Regions from separate parts of the Homo sapiens genome. Here region 2 is linked to region 1. The links are contacts of gene promoters, found by promoter capture Hi-C in blood cells and fetal thymus (Javierre and others, 2016). All regions are on one chromosome and are shown on one strand. The core of a region is centred on a gene start or on the middle of the fragment in contact, and the rest is flanking DNA. Distances in the headings are between cores, read along the strand shown. Region 1 holds the start of SKAP1-AS2 (SKAP1 antisense RNA 2). Region 2 overlaps HOXB3 (homeobox B3).

Region 1 (5,068 bases), core at 1,609-4,108:
CAATCAAATCATTCTGCAAACAGTAACGCAGATTCCAATGATAAGATGAGTGAGCAGGATGCAAGAACATCTTAAAGATCACCTGCCACACTTGTGTTTGAGGTGCTCAATGGCTGTTTACACCAAGTGCCATCTGGCTCTATAGATATAATAACAATTATTCCATTGAGGTGTGTAGCTCCCTAAATCATATTAATATACAATGATTCCGCTAGTCTTATAGGAGTTGATGTCTTTGTGCGCTCTCATTTAACCTGGGTAATGCGCTAAAACAAGTCTGCCTCATCATTAAGAATTGATTTTTTATTTATGTGAATGTCACTGGCAATCCCATGATATCCCTTTGTAATTCAGTTGAACAGGACTGCATACTAGCGTTAATCTATTTTTATGGCATATCTTTAAAAATTTGCAACATCTTGCTACATTTGGATATTTATATAGAGATTTGTGTTCCTGCAGAAAGCTGTTGTTAGCTTTGGAGATCCACTTCATATAGCAATAGGGCAAGTATCTAATATACTTCATTAGCTATCTTATATCAGATAAGGGTTTATTTCTTTAAATTATTTAACCTTGGTATAACCTACTAAAATCACATAAATCACAAATACACTAATGAAAATCATTAGTTTAGCCTATTCAAAAAAAAAAAAAAGAAAGAAAGAAAGAAAAGAAAAAAGAAAACTTCCAACAGGGATAAAATTAAAACATTTTAAAATCAGCCCTCTGGAAGCATTTCATGAAAGTAACTTGGTGAATTTGTCATGATCACTCATTTCTTAATGTTGTCATTGGTCAATCGTTTAGTCATTGATGTTAACAACTATTCTGATGTGCTAACATTTGTAAAAAAAACCAAAAAAACAAAAACACATCGCTTTTTTTCTGGCTGATTCAAAATCTGATTTTAAAAGTCATAGTTACAACTATTTATAAATATGCCTTCATGAGTTTTGCTAATTTAAAATGAGATAAACACAATAAGCAACAATAAAAAGAAAAAATACATATTTTAAGATACCAAGAAAAAATACTACATCACAAAATTATACTTTAAATCTAGTCTTCCCAACAGTATTTACAAGATTATTAAATAATTACCTTATGGGGAAGTTCTGTCAGAACACCTCTCATATTTGGATGAGTATTATAGACTTTGAACCTGTTCATAAAGCAATAGCAAGCTTCTTCAGAAAGTCACTGAATTTTGGGCATGGGGAGATATGGTAAGTTATACTGCAGGTCTTGACCATTTCATGCTGCTGCTTTAAAGGCAGAATTACTCTTATGCTGTTGAATTTATCATACACAATTACTGATACTGCAACTCATAAGGAAGTTAAGCAAAGTTTCAGAACAAATAAATGAGGTAACAATTTTTCAAATCTAAAGGATTTTGAAGAGGATTGTCACTGCAAACTATAAACTACTGTAAGATTCTTGGTCTAGAACAATCTCTTGTGGATTATTTAGACAATTTTTAAAAAAGCACACTGGGGCAAGTTCATTTTTCTAACTTGAAAATATACGTCGTAAAACTTAATTAAAGGCTCAAACTTAAGAAAGACACATTCATAAAAAATCTACATTTGAGTTAGATTGTGAAATCTATGTAGTTTTCAATATAATATATTAATATCTGTAATCCTTAAGCTGTAATTTTTACAAATATGTTTTCCAAGAGCTGCATAAATTAACTTCTTTATGTATTGTATATGTTATAAATAACTAGAAGGAATTACGTACTTTTATATTCAATAAATAAATACATTTAAAGCTCAGATACTTTCACTAAAATAGATCCACAAAGAAGCTTGGAATGTTCTTCTGTGGTCTTCAGAACTATGTGTGGTGAGCAATTATCAGGAATAATACATGTGTCTGTTTTTGAATTCAGTAAGCCTTCTAAACATTATTTTAAAACTACTCCACAGAGATGATAAAAGGTGTATTAATCACCTAAATGCCTATAAATTGAGATTTAAGGTCAGAGATATTCCCTTAGTTTACTTAAGATATTCCTTGGATATCCCTTAGATATTTCCCTAGTTGTCCCACACGGGCTTGCTTGATCACACATCATATCCTGGTACATACGAGGTTCTGAGTTAGCACTGTGGAATTGGTGTACAAGGCTTACAAGTCAGCTTTTAAAACGTAATAATGATAGCATCTATAATACTATTCTAGTGATTCTATGCTTTTCTTTTTGTTAAAATCATCCCTTATTTTAGGAATAAGCTAAGTAAAGAGGGAACATGGAGTCAGACTGAAATCTACTTCAGGGCTCACCTTTGTCGGATGAACAGTGAACGCTCTGACATTGACATTCACAGCAGCATTGCTGCCGGGTATTGCTATAATTTGCTCTCTATGATTGTTCCTTTAAACAAAAAGCTCTGCGCTCAGCATGCAAAGAAGTTAGAAGTGCGGGAAGGAGGGGGAACCACACATATAAGAGGAGAGAGAGGAAAAAACTGCAGATCAATCATTTATAATTAACAAAAATCCGATTGGTGCTTTAAATAGAGATCAATGTGTTCCAGGCTGCCTGGATTGTGGGGATGTATTCACCTTCTGGTAACTCTCCAAGCAAGCTGTCACACCTACAGAATCACCATTTGTTTTCTTAACAAAGCTTCAGGGGGCGCCAGGCTCTCATTGAAATTTCATTAATCTAATGGAGTAAAGTCCTATAGAAAAAAATCAAATTCTCGTTGGACGAGATGCTACCTGGGAAAGATAACCTCTGTTTGAACTCTCAGACTCGGATCTCTCTGCTATTAGTCTGAGGAAACAGACAGCAACAACGCTGATTACAGCCACCGGCCTCAACAATTTTTTTTTCTAACTAGCAATTTCGAGTGCAAGTGCCACAGTGTCAGCTAAAGAAACACAACTGCGGGTTTTCTGCAGAGCAAAATGGTTCTGAAATGTCACTGAATAGCTCACAAAGGACGCCAATCTACGACAACAGAGACATAAGCATATAGGAGAAAGGGTCCACACATCCTCCTTTCAAAGGTATGTTGTTTACATGCATGTAATTTGTGAAACCCACAGCTATTCAATTCAGGGTTTTCGCAGAAGTCTAAACCAAAATCTGTGTAGAAAGCAATTATCAAGATTCCTCCAAAAGTCACAGAAATTTGGGTGTGGGGAAATTATGACATGTTATACACATAAATAGATGCCCTACATAGTACATGACCTATATAGTATAGTCTTCAAGTTCCCAAGACATCAATTATGGCTGTTACGTGGTGATGATACTTCAGCATCACCTCCATGTGATTTGACTCACAAGTTTTCAAAAGTGGCCTAAATCTGGACATGTCAATATATAGTAGCAACAGTTACTTTGAGAGGAAAATATGGAATGTTGATTCCTTAAAGTTCTTTCCAGGAATGTCCCCATGGCTCATCTGACACATGGTAAGGGTATATGATGGTACACCTATGTGACAAAAAGAGCCAGCATGACAAAGGCTGCATCTATGCCAAAGTAAAATAGCTTTTGGTACTGCTTATTTTTTCCCAACTTAAATGGCTATTTGTAAAAATTTAAATGACTAACAGACCAGTAGTTTTAGGCACAAAAGTCTAAAACAGAGAATGAAACAACCTGTAGAAAGCCCTCTGCTAGACTCTTATATGATCACTATGTTTTGCACGAAGCAACTGGGCAAAGGAAGTTGACTTCAATCGGGCAAGATCACAGTCAAGTTCAGCACTGCTTTCTGATTCCATAGACGTCTAAATCTGGAAGTGACAGTGCAAACCTTACTTGTGTTAAGGAAGAAGACTTATTGTACTTTAAACTAAAAAGAGAAACTAGTAATTTGAACATAAACTACAACTTGTATTTCCTTTCTTTTTAAAGCAGGGACCTAAAAATTGTAGCATATGATAAGGAGAAAAAAGTCATACTTTGAAAAAAGAAAAGGAAGGTCATGACATCCTAGGCAAGCAATTGAAAGGATTCAAAAAATTCTGAGTCCATCTTTAAAGATACTTTTTTTCTTTTACAATAAGCTTGCCGTTTTTCACCTAGGTCACAGAAAGCTTGCTGCAGATCAGGAAATGTCTTCAGTTTCCAAAGCCTCTCATAGCAGTGAGTCACTTCCTCTTTTTTTTTTTTTTCCATTTTCGCTGTTTATGGGTAAACATTGCTCTATTTGGATATATTTAATATTTTTGTGTCTGGCACAAATTTATCCATAAGGATCTAGCTTCTTTTCATACGTAATTCCTTTAATTTCCTGTCTGAGATCCACCTGTAGAATTATACTTCCGGTCTCCATCTACATCCTGTTTAAAGATATCACCGAGAGTGATATACCAATTTTTTAAAATTCTAAGCATTAGGAAAATGAGTACATAACACATTTATGTGTCTATGTGTATATACTATTTATGTAAACATATAATATATGCAAAACATATATGCATATACACATACGATATATGCAAATCTGTATATAGAAAAACTTAGTTTACTCAAGATTATTAAAATTGATCCTGGGAACAAAACAATACACCTTTTCTAGGCATTTATCCCTACTATAGAGACAGAGAAAGAAAGATTGTGAGAGGGAGACACACACATTCAGATGAGCCTTCAGGGAATTGTATGAACTTTTGAACCAGAGATGGAGAGCCAGAGCCCAGCCTGTTCCCACTTTAATAAACATTTTTTTCTTCAATTAATTAAGGTTTGGAAAGAAAAAAAAACCACAGAAGAGAAGTAATTTAGCATGCAATGCATACTTTACAGATGGATCCTACCTTCGGATGCTTATTAAATCTATGCATGACTGCGCTGGAGAAAATTAATTGCATTGTTTCTCACTATTGGAAAATAGGTTGCAAACAGCTCAAAAATAAAAAGGAAAATGAAGCAAGGTGGTTGTTGTTGTTTAAAAAAACAGCTATAGTATAAAAGAAATACTTTCAAAGTCCTAAAACAAGTAATACCCACGACTGGCATAAGAGCATAGATTTCTTTAAAATTGTTTTGATGTTTCAAAATACCATATATGCTGCCAGAATACATGTATCTACT
Region 2 (5,068 bases), core at 1,175-3,674, 270 kb after region 1:
GGCGAGGAAAGATAATTCTGCGGCTGAGAAAATTTAATGCAAAACAATTTCCAGGCAAAGCTGGGTGTCTGGACAGAAATGCAAGAGCCACTAGTTGGCCTGCGGAAATTACTATCTGGGGGTCAAAATGTTTTTCTCCCCACCGCCATCCTCCTGCATGGCTCCCTTACTCTGCTCGTCTTTGTATTATTCACTTGCTCCCCACTCCCAAACAGAGATTTTGGGGGAATTCGAGCAGTAATGGTGGGACACAAGGCTGCCAAGGTCCAGCCTCAAACCACGGATCTCCCCGATCTTCCCTACCACACCAAGCCTTTTCTCCTTTTGGCCTCCCCTCCTCAACCAACCATACTCACTAATTCCTTGGCTTCCCACCACAAAGTTAAAAATTCAAAGTGAAGATGAGGCTGGGTGGGCAGAAGGCACAGGAGGCACACAGGGAAAGGGTAGAGGGGCAGGGGCCAGGAGGCCAGGCCAAGTGGGCTCTGCTGCATGTGGCTGCGGGAAGAAAAAAGCAGGAAAGAGCACTACTTCGTGGACAGGACAAGGGGCAGTGTGTCTAGAGCTACCTCATCCCAGAGTTCCAGAACCAGAGAACATGGGGTCTCTCTCCTGACTCCCAATCTCCCAGCTCACAAAGTGATTCTGCAAACCCATCCGCAAAGCCCCACCTGGAGTACATACAGCTCCCGATGTGCAGATGCACTCACACAATACACAAACATACCTACACATGTGCCTGCTTACATGCTCCCTTTGCATACACCCACCACACTGTGCGCCTGCAAAGGGACAGTTCCCACTATTCTCCCTCATCTGGGAAAATAAATCCCAGTGCGTCAGGCTGGCATCGCTTCCCACTCCAAGGAGAGGGGCTTCTCTGGCCTCTGCTCTGTTTGGTTTTTGGTTTCCAGAGCAGGCAGGAGTAAACACAGCTTCTCTGAAGCCATAAATCACCCCCTTTCCTACCTTCTGGGCTTAACACTCAGCCTCAGTGCAATCCCTTGTAGTTTTGCCTTCAAATAACCCGCTAGGTGCTAAAGGGTTGGGCAATGGTGGCAGCTGGGTTGTGGAAGCTGACCCAGCGGTCGCCCCCCAACCCCACTGCCCCTAACAGATGCCCCTCACATTTCCCTCAGTACCCACAGCCCCCAACTGCCCTGGAAAACCCTCCTGGGCCTCAACGCCCTTTCTGAGCGGGAGGGCTCTCCCATCCCCTAACAAGATCATGTCCACACGCCCACCCAAACAGCTCCACATTCCTCCACACTCGTCCTCCACCCCCAGGTCCCTTTACCCCCTTGAAGCCCCCACCCTGCCTTTCAAAGTTGCTCTCATCTTCGTCTTCAATTCGGATCCCGGCCTGTCCCAGGAGAGAGGCCTGGGGGCGGGGGTCTCAGCCACCCACCTCTGCACCCCCGCCAGGCCCCGAGCGCCCCGGCTCCGCACCCCACACTTACCTGTGCGGTCTTCCGCTAGGGCGCGGGCAACGGCGGGCGGCCGGGCGCTGGGTGCGCGCGGGGGCCGACTGCCAGGCCCCGGACCCTCGGCCCAGGCTGGGGCTCCGCCGCCGCAGCCAGCCGCATCCTAGTCGCTCAACCCGCAGCAACCCCCAGCAACCCCCGAGCGTCCCGCCGAGCTGGGGGAGAGGCCCGGATGCGCTCGCCCCCACCCCGCCCCCGCCCCCGCCCCCGGCTTTGTTCGGCCTCCAGGGCCCCAGGAGCGCGCGGATCTGGCACTCCGGGCGCGGCAGACGCCAGTTTCCTGAGAAGCTCCCACTCCGTCCGGGCCGCGCAGGGCTGCGGGAACCCCGGGCTCGTCTGGCACCGAGCTGAACTCGGGCTTTGAGAGCGGGCCAAGTTGCCAGGCGAGAGGAGCGGCAACTGACAGGGGCACGGCGAGGCGTAGGGAGCGCCGGGGGCGCCATGGCGGAAGGCGGGCACACCGGCGACTCTTCAATGTCACCAGCGAAATGGGTTCCATATGTCCGACCCGGCAGAGAAGGGAGGGGAAGGGAGAGAGTTCTGGGCAGGACAGGAGTGGGGACAGGGAGGGCGGCAATGGAGGGAACAGAGCAATGGCGAGGGGGCAATAGGAAGGATCAGACGGGCGAGAAAGATTTGCATCTCCCCTTTTCCCTCGAGTTTTCTAAAGCTGCTTAGGCTGGTAGGAACTTGCTTTCTCTTTTTCCTTTTCTTGTTCTTTCCTGTAAGATGGGGGAGGAAGGAGATTAGTAGGGGAAGCATCCGCTTGTTAAGGCTGGGAGTTTGAGGGAGGAGATGTGGAATGGAGGTGAAAGTTCTTAGGCGGCTGGAAGATCAACAACTTCCCCAGGTCCCTAGAGAAAAAAAGAGACCAAACCCACAAGGGGGAAGAAAAGCCAAGAAAGGATTCCAGGGTCCAGGTGTGAAAGTCCCAACTCCCCCCACCCCCATGATGAAATTCTGTTTGGGGAGGTCCCAATGATTAAGTTACTGATGCTGGTGATTGTGGTGGAGGCTGAAGTGTCCTGGACATCTTGGCCATTCCCTGGCACTTCAGCTCCTGCCACAGCTGCCTCACACCTGATTTAGCACCCCCAAGGGCCTACTCTAGAGGCAGTTGTTTCTGAGATGGCCTGGGCTTTGGGCAGCTTCCTGTAAAGAAGGCTGCTAGGGAGCAGGGAGCCTGGAGGGGCTTCCCTCTGTGCCTGCTCCCCAAAGGGTTTGGGCTTTTTTTCTGTGTTGGGTCTCTCTGTCTTTTCTAACCATCTCTGTTGTCTCCGTTCCTTTCTCACAGCCCCTTTGTCTTTTTCCAATTCTGCGTCTCTCAGTGTCTTCAGTGAATTTGAATTGAGCCTTGCAAAGGATTTAGGAGTGTCTCCAGAAATCACTTCTGGGCTCACCCATTAGGTTGAGTCTCTTCTTCCCTTTCCTCTGTGGGGGAACCCACCCTCTATCCAGAGAAATTCTCTTCTAGAGAGAAGGGGACAAAAGGGGTAGTTTCCTTCCCACTGCCCTTGTTCTCACTTAACTCTGTGTGTGTGTCCCCTTGTGAATTGTGGGGCTCCTTCCTCCAGGACAGCCTCCCTTCCCCTCTGACTGGCCTTTGTTTCCACTCTCCCTGTCATCACCTCCTTGGGCTCAGCCTTGACTTCCCATCCCAGAAAGGGATCCTGCTGCTTGTTCTCTCTCTGGGTCCCTCTCTTCCTCATCTCACTCTTCATCTTTCTATCCAATTCCTCTGGTCACTAAAGCGTTAGCAGCCTGCCTCCTTAAAGGCACAGAGATAAACACTGCAATTATATAGAGAGGATACCAGCAGAGAGTTAGGGGAGAAGACAGAGTCAGCAGCTTTCTTAGAGCTCTGTCTACCAGATGCATTCTATCCCAACCCCTGAACAACACAAAAGCAAATCAGTGGGGTGGAGGGTGCAGGACTGGTAAGAGACAGGGTGCTTCATAGCTAAATGAAGCAAATGTATATATAAACAACAAAGTCCTTTCAAACTTGCTGATTTGGGGTAGGCCTAGATGCCTGGATGGAAGGCATTAGGCATCACATGGGGGATTTACCAGATAATGGTGGCAAGGGATGGTCCCCTTGCTTTGTCTCCTGGGGAAGAGTCTGTGCGTGTTGGGGAAAGGGAAGGGGAGGGGGTATCAGTGTCACCTCCTCTCCTCTGGGCCAGAGGAGACAAAGACCTGAAGAGGGCTGAAAGAATAAAGAGGAAAAGCTGGTGGAGTGGGGGTGGGGGTGGTTGGTCAGACTTCCACGTCACAGGCAAAGGTAGCAGCAGGAGGGGAGATGGAAAAGGGTTGGGGAGGAGGAGTTGCAAACGCAGGGGGAAGGGGCCTGTGGGACTGGCTCTCCATGCTAGCTATGGGCTGGCCCAAAGAGCAGATCCTTTTCTTTCCCATCTTTCAAAGCATGCTGAATTCAGAAGCTAATACAAATGATTCTACCCTCTTCCTTCTCTGTCATGTCCCTCCTCCTCCCCATGGAAGAAGTGATCCTTCCCTGCTCTCTCAAAAACTCCAAGACTTTGCCCTAACTCTGGACCACCGGTTTGAGGGAGAACGCACCCTCTTCACAGTCATACCCCCCAACACTTTCCAGATGAGGGAGAAGTAGAACTGCTTGCCTCTCACACTGAATGTGTGTGGGATTCTCCAACACTCAAGGAGTGGGTGGGGAATGAGACTGAAAGGTTTGGAGCCCCTATGCCCCAGGTCTCTTTGCTGCCTCTGCCAGCCCTTCCCACCTCCTCACAATCTCCAGTGCTGTCAAAGCTGCCCCTGTATCCAGACTTTTCCCTAGTTCTTTTTATCCAGGTCAGACAGTGCCTCTACCCATCCCAGCCTTGGGTCCTGGCCTTCTCTTTCTCCCCAAACCCTTTTCAACTGAGACTCCTGAATTGGGAGGCTTCACCCACTACCCACTGAGAATCCCTTGTTAACATGGATGAGACTCAGTGTTCACTTGGAGCAGAGTGTGGGAGCGAGCTCCTGGATGCTGCAGGGACTGGGGCCTAAGCTGCCACTCCACGTAGTGGATGCCATGAATAATTAACACCTGGGCGCGGCGTTGCTCTAACTTCCCTGCTCAAAGGTTTACACTAGCAGGCAGAGTTAAATATCACAGATAATCGTGGCTATAAAGTCAGTTGGCCTGGCTCCAGTCAGGGAATGAGGGGCCAACAGCTGGGACTGGAGTTGGTGAAGGCTCTGGCCCTCTGCACCTCATCCATCACAACTTTGGGGCACAGTGCAGAACATTCCCCAAAGCCACCTCTGGCTTTGCTCTTGACCAGCAGCCTCTCCCCTAGTAGGAAGGAACTGTGACCTCCACATGAAACTATAGGAGAAAGTTAACAGCTCTTCCCCTCCCTCTCCAATCTGCACCCCGTTTGCTCCCTTTTTGGATGGGGACTTAGTTAAAAGAACACACCCAACATCCTCCAACACTCCCAACTTTCTGGGACCACCTGATTCCTAGAACATTTCTTTTCTAGAAAAACTTCGGAGAACTTCTCCCCACTTTAGCCCCAAACACAGAGTCCCTCACTGCTGAGGAAACTTTTCTTTGT

The links. Contacts are between HindIII fragments. The CHiCAGO score rates a contact against its expected background, and 5 or more counts as called.
Region 2: a contact is called between a fragment that was not itself captured here and the fragment with the promoter of SKAP1-AS2 in region 1, in 1 of 17 cell types (total B cells). The highest score is 5.1, in total B cells.

Annotation. Positions count from the first base shown.
Region 1 is chr17:48,291,489-48,296,556 of GRCh38, forward strand. SKAP1-AS2 (SKAP1 antisense RNA 2) reads left to right here and starts at 2,859. Exons shown (of 2, transcript NR_131240.1): 1 at 2,859-3,027. All of the region lies in intron 4 of SKAP1 (src kinase associated phosphoprotein 1), which reads right to left. The HindIII fragment of the contact is 1,397 bases long and covers 2,640-4,036 here.
Region 2 is chr17:48,562,754-48,567,821 of GRCh38, forward strand. All of the region lies in intron 2 of HOXB3 (homeobox B3), which reads right to left. Among named protein-coding and RNA genes, the nearest start is that of HOXB-AS2, 9.1 kb to the left of the region's middle. RefSeq lists an enhancer at 1,600-2,404. The HindIII fragment of the contact is 5,439 bases long and covers 1-5,068 here.